Linked DNA regions of Homo sapiens: region 1 is linked to region 2. Evidence: promoter capture Hi-C in human tissues and cell types (Jung and others, 2019). All regions are on one chromosome and are shown on one strand. Each heading gives the region's core, a stretch centred on a gene start or on the middle of the fragment in contact. The rest is flanking DNA. Distances are from core to core; before and after follow the strand shown. Region 1 has its middle 81 kb from the start of DOCK10. Region 2 holds the start of IRS1 (insulin receptor substrate 1).

The links. The method cuts DNA at HindIII sites, captures the fragments that hold promoters and counts their contacts. A contact is called where the count stands out against the background at its distance.
Region 1: a fragment that was not itself captured here is called in contact with the fragment with the promoter of IRS1 in region 2 in 1 of the 25 tissues and cell types used here (dorsolateral prefrontal cortex).

The regions. Positions count from the first base shown.
Region 1 is chr2:225,121,639-225,124,338 of GRCh38, reverse strand. No RefSeq gene overlaps it. Among named protein-coding and RNA genes, the nearest start is that of DOCK10, 81 kb to the right of the region's middle. The HindIII fragment of the contact is 6,487 bases long and covers 1-2,700 here.
Region 2 is chr2:226,798,570-226,801,269 of GRCh38, reverse strand. IRS1 (insulin receptor substrate 1) reads left to right here and starts at 1,450. Exons shown (of 2, transcript NM_005544.3): 1 at 1,450-2,700. The coding sequence starts at 2,532. It also overlaps a transcript of RHBDD1 not described here. RefSeq lists silencers at 1-121, 1,082-1,151, 1,172-1,591, 2,582-2,631. The HindIII fragment of the contact is 12,102 bases long and covers 1-2,700 here.

The sequences.
Region 1 (2,700 bases), core at 101-2,600, 1.7 Mb after region 2:
GAAAGGGAGACAAATTTTGGCTTAGGAATCTGTTTTATCTCATCCCAGTGGCTGATACTGATGTTGTATAATTAAAGATATCAATGTTTCAAAGGGAAAGTAGTGTCATACCTTGAAGTAATCACTTTTTGAATGGTGATTTCATTATAGAATACAAGTCTATCTTACAGCTGGTCACTCTACAAAACCGTTCTGAGGGAGAGTTATTATTTCTTTTGTATGGTTTTGCAATGGGCCAAGCGGTATTCTTGATGCTTTTCTCTTGCTTTTATGTTATGTGTGTATGAAATCTCAATATAGATGCTTATATAGTTCACTCTACAAAGCACAGCTGTGAGATTATTGCTTACTATTACATTAAAGACAGAAGCACAATTGAGCGGCCTGGATACAGTGAATAACTAATGAGAGCTATGATTGAAATGCCTTTTTCCCTCTTCCACATTTCCAAATGCAGTTGCAAAAACAAGGCCATTTGCATATGCTATATGAGTGGAGTGTGATCCTAAGAGTTTGTATACATCACACCAAATCTGGGCTTTGCTATTGTTATCTTTGTTAGTCAAATTATAAGTTTATCTACTCTTATTGTTATTGATACTCTATTCTTCTATATAAGGTCTCCATCTTTAACTACAGTACTATTTTAAAAAAATCCTAAAAGGTAGACATCATTTTAAATATACACATACATAAACACTTTACTATTGAGTCAGCTCCTCCATTTACAGAATGTAATTGAGTATCATGTTCATATTGTAAGAAAAAGTAACGAGAAAGGAAGGAAAATAGAAGGAAGGAAGGAAGGGAGGAAGGAAAGGATAGAGGCAAGAAAGAGAGAGAGGAAAAAAACTGAGGAAAAGAAAGAAGGAAAAGAAAGGGAGGACGGGAGGAAATGAAGAAAGAGAAAGGAGGAAAGATGGGAGGAAGGGAGGGATGAGAAAAGAGAGAGAAAGAATAAAGGAATAAAGGAAACAAGGAAGAGAAGGAGGAAGAAAGAAGGAAGATACAAAGGACAGAAGGAAGGAAAGAAGAAGGATGGAAGGGGAGGAAAAAGAAGGAAAGAAGCGAGGGAGGGCAGGAGGGAGGGAGGGAGAGAGGAAGGAAGGAAGGAAGGAAGGAAGGAAGGGAGGGAGGGAGGGAGGGAGGGAGGGAGGGAGGGAGGGAGGGAGGGAGGAAAGGAGGAAAGGAGGAAGGAAGGGGAGGGAGGGAGGGAGAAATATTTTAATGCTCTTTAACATGCTAATTTAAAACTAAAGCCAGCCCTCTGCTGCAACCTGCTGACAGACTGGGGAACTACAAATGAGAAAATATTTAGTATTGGCAATAACAAATTTATTATAAATACTTCGTTTCTGAATCCTGCCGTCTTTATAATTTTATTTAAAATAATCTAATTAGAATATGCCTGAGACAAAGCATCCATGTTGGTTTACAATAAAAAAATTGACTAAATAACTGCAATAAAATGTATAAACGTTAATGCACTTCATTACGTAGGATATAGACGAATATTCCAAGTAAGAAGGTTATAACCTGGCTCCTAGCCAATTCCTCCATCCCCGCTTAGTTAACGGCACTTCAAAGAAGCGCATTTCCACACAGATAAAACCACGATGGGGATGGAGCACAGATGAAAATCGCTCTCTAAGGGAAGGCTGTCCTCCGCTTCCGCTTGACGATCCATATTTGACTGGAAGCTCTGAGACTATACCTATATGTTTAAAATAGCTAAAAGTAATGTAAAAAGGACAAAATGCTTTTAAAAAATGTGTTTTGTTGAGCTGTACATAGAAGCATGGATGAGGCTCTGGGGCAGAGTTTTCTGTGTTCTGGCAACTCTCCCTGGTGAATCCTTTCAGTCAAAACTCAAGAACCTACACACTGACCAGACATTGGTGAAGAAACCGTGGAATGTTAAATGTATGTTTAATAATACACAAAGCTTTTTTAATTGAGGGAGAATGGGTTCTTTCAGAGAAATATATATAATGTTGGTACGGTTTGGATCTGTGTCCCCACAAAATCTCAGGTCAAATCATAATCCCCACTGTTGGAGGCGGGGCCTGGTGGGAGGTGACTGGATCCTGAGGGCGGAGTTCTCATGAATGATTTAGCACCATCCTCTCTTGGTACTGTAGAGTGAGTGAGTCCTCGCGAGATCTGGTTGTTTCAAAGTGTGTATCACCTCTCTCTCTCTCTGGGTCCTTTTCCTGCCGTGTAAGACACCTGCTCCACCATGAGTAAAAGCTCCCTGAGGCCTCCCCAGAAGCAGATGCGGCCGTGCTTCCTGTACAACCTGTGGAACATTGTGCCAGTTAAATCTCTTTTCTTATAAATTACCCAGTCTCAGGCATTTCTTTATAGTAGTGGCAGGACAGACTAATACAAATTATATTATGTAATATTTTATAATACAGTGTTATATGTATTCTTTTAAGAGACTTTATGTTTTTGCTAGTAGGCTGGAGGGTGAGACTTTAGATCTTCTGGAACAGGATAAAAATAAGCATTGAAGAAGAAAAGCAAATCTCAGTTGGAAGGAGCCCCACAAAGATGAGGTGTTAGGCTCCTAGAGAAGAAAGGCTTCCAGGTAGTCCTATCTAGGGCTGTGGGAGCACGTGTTTAACACTGAGTTAAGTTTATTCTCTGAGTTGCAAGGCCCATGTGATATCTTTAATTTTCAATTCAGCTTTAATT
Region 2 (2,700 bases), core at 201-2,700:
CCCGGGAAACTCGCTCCGCCCCTCAGCCGCATTGGGCCGAGGCGCGCTCCCCCGCGGCCCGCCGGGTCCCAGCCACTGAGCATGCCCAGCGCCTCGACTGCTGAGTGCCCAGCCAGCATCCTGCAGTGCCTGGGAGCCTGAGGCCGAGGAGGGTCCCGGCGTAGTAAAGGGGCGGCAACCCCAAACGGGCCAGGCATCAAAATGAGACAGCATTAAACCGAGTGACATCTCTGTGGGTCCTTAGTGCCAGGCGAGCAAGCAGGGACAAACTGCTTGTTTATAGGTCGGCTTAAAAAATAAAAAAACTCTGGGGAGCGTTTGTTTGTGGGGAGACTGATACCGCAAGGTGACCCTGAAAGGGGCGCTTCAAGTAGACCCAGGCTGCTGATCTGGTCCACTCATGAAGTAACCATTTTCCTGTACAGTTGAGCTGGCACCATCCTTGTTTTCTCCCTGTTATCCTTGTGGTCAAGGTTAAAAACTTATAGGGTGGTTCAATGGGTGTGGGAGCTGTGTGTGAAACAAACATTTCAGCCAATATTTGCACAGTAGGGTTTTGGCCTTATGAACCCTCTGAAGGTCCCTAACAGCTTTTTAAAGTCACGGATAGACTTCGGAATATGATAAGGGACCTCTCATTTCCCCTCCCCCATGCCCTCAGCCTTAGGTGTGAGTCCCCCCGTCACACGGATGGGCAAGGGGAGCAGGAGAAAAGGTGATATTTACATTTTCTCCCTACTTGATCAGCAACTAATTCCACAGCGCCGGACGTGAGACACTTCCTGGGGATCCCTGTTCTCCTTTTGTAGTGACCATAACTGCCCCCAGTCACTGCCCTTGGGCGTCCCTCTGTTCCTTCCAGGTACCTCACGGCAGCAAATCTGGGGATCCCAAGGTGGAAGGCTGGCCCAGAAGTCCTTTAGAAAAACCTTAAAAAATACAGATCCCCTCACCATGGCCTATCGCCCTGAAGCCGAAATCTAGCTTTTAAATTTCCTGGGGGAAACAGCCTTGACTAGAAACCTCCCTCCCGTGGGTCAGTCTTACCTGATAGGTAAGAGGCAGCCCAGCTCCGGCGCCCCCGCCTCCCCCCGGCCTCCCACTCGGGGCTCTGTAGCCGCAGTGCCCCCCCGTGGCCCCCCACCCTCACTCCTGCGTCTTCCCGAGCTCGCCCCCTCCCGTTTTCCCAGACTCCCCTCGTGCTTTCGGGTAGCCACCCAAACACCCCCGCCTGCGCCCGCCGCGGGGATTCCTGCGGGCCGGGGGCGCCCCGGTTGGCGCGCGTGTAGGGAGGCGCTGCGCCGGAGCTGGCGGCCGCGCAGGGGCGCTGTCCTAGCGCTGCGCCGGGGTCGGCGCGGGCGCCGCTGCAGCACGGCTGGGGGGCGGAGAGGGGCGGGCGCGGGGCGGGCTCGGCCCGGAATGTAGAGACCCGGGCGGGAGCCTCCCGGCGGCGGCTGCCCGGCTGCCGAGCGCGGAGGCTCCGTCACGTGTTTTTCTCCTCCGAGTGAGACGGCGGCGCGGTCGGAGGGGGCCGGCGCGCAGAGCCAGACGCCGCCGCTTGTTTTGGTTGGGGCTCTCGGCAACTCTCCGAGGAGGAGGAGGAGGAGGGAGGAGGGGAGAAGTAACTGCAGCGGCAGCGCCTCCCGAGGAACAGGCGTCTTCCCCGAACCCTTCCCAAACCTCCCCCATCCCCTCTCGCCCTTGTCCCCTCCCCTCCTCCCCAGCCGCCTGGAGCGAGGGGCAGGGATGAGTCTGTCCCTCCGGCCGGTCCCCAGCTGCAGTGGCTGCCCGGTATCGTTTCGCATGGAAAAGCCACTTTCTCCACCCGCCGAGATGGGCCCGGATGGGGGCTGCAGAGGACGCGCCCGCGGGCGGCGGCAGCAGCAGCAGCAGCAGCAGCAGCAACAGCAACAGCCGCAGCGCCGCGGTCTCTGCGACTGAGCTGGTATTTGGGCGGCTGGTGGCGGCTGGGACGGTTGGGGGGTGGGAGGAGGCGAAGGAGGAGGGAGAACCCCGTGCAACGTTGGGACTTGGCAACCCGCCTCCCCCTGCCCAAGGATATTTAATTTGCCTCGGGAATCGCTGCTTCCAGAGGGGAACTCAGGAGGGAAGGCGCGCGCGCGCGCGCGCTCCTGGAGGGGCACCGCAGGGACCCCCGACTGTCGCCTCCCTGTGCCGGACTCCAGCCGGGGCGACGAGAGATGCATCTTCGCTCCTTCCTGGTGGCGGCGGCGGCTGAGAGGAGACTTGGCTCTCGGAGGATCGGGGCTGCCCTCACCCCGGACGCACTGCCTCCCCGCCGGGCGTGAAGCGCCCGAAAACTCCGGTCGGGCTCTCTCCTGGGCTCAGCAGCTGCGTCCTCCTTCAGCTGCCCCTCCCCGGCGCGGGGGGCGGCGTGGATTTCAGAGTCGGGGTTTCTGCTGCCTCCAGCCCTGTTTGCATGTGCCGGGCCGCGGCGAGGAGCCTCCGCCCCCCACCCGGTTGTTTTTCGGAGCCTCCCTCTGCTCAGCGTTGGTGGTGGCGGTGGCAGCATGGCGAGCCCTCCGGAGAGCGATGGCTTCTCGGACGTGCGCAAGGTGGGCTACCTGCGCAAACCCAAGAGCATGCACAAACGCTTCTTCGTACTGCGCGCGGCCAGCGAGGCTGGGGGCCCGGCGCGCCTCGAGTACTACGAGAACGAGAAGAAGTGGCGGCACAAGT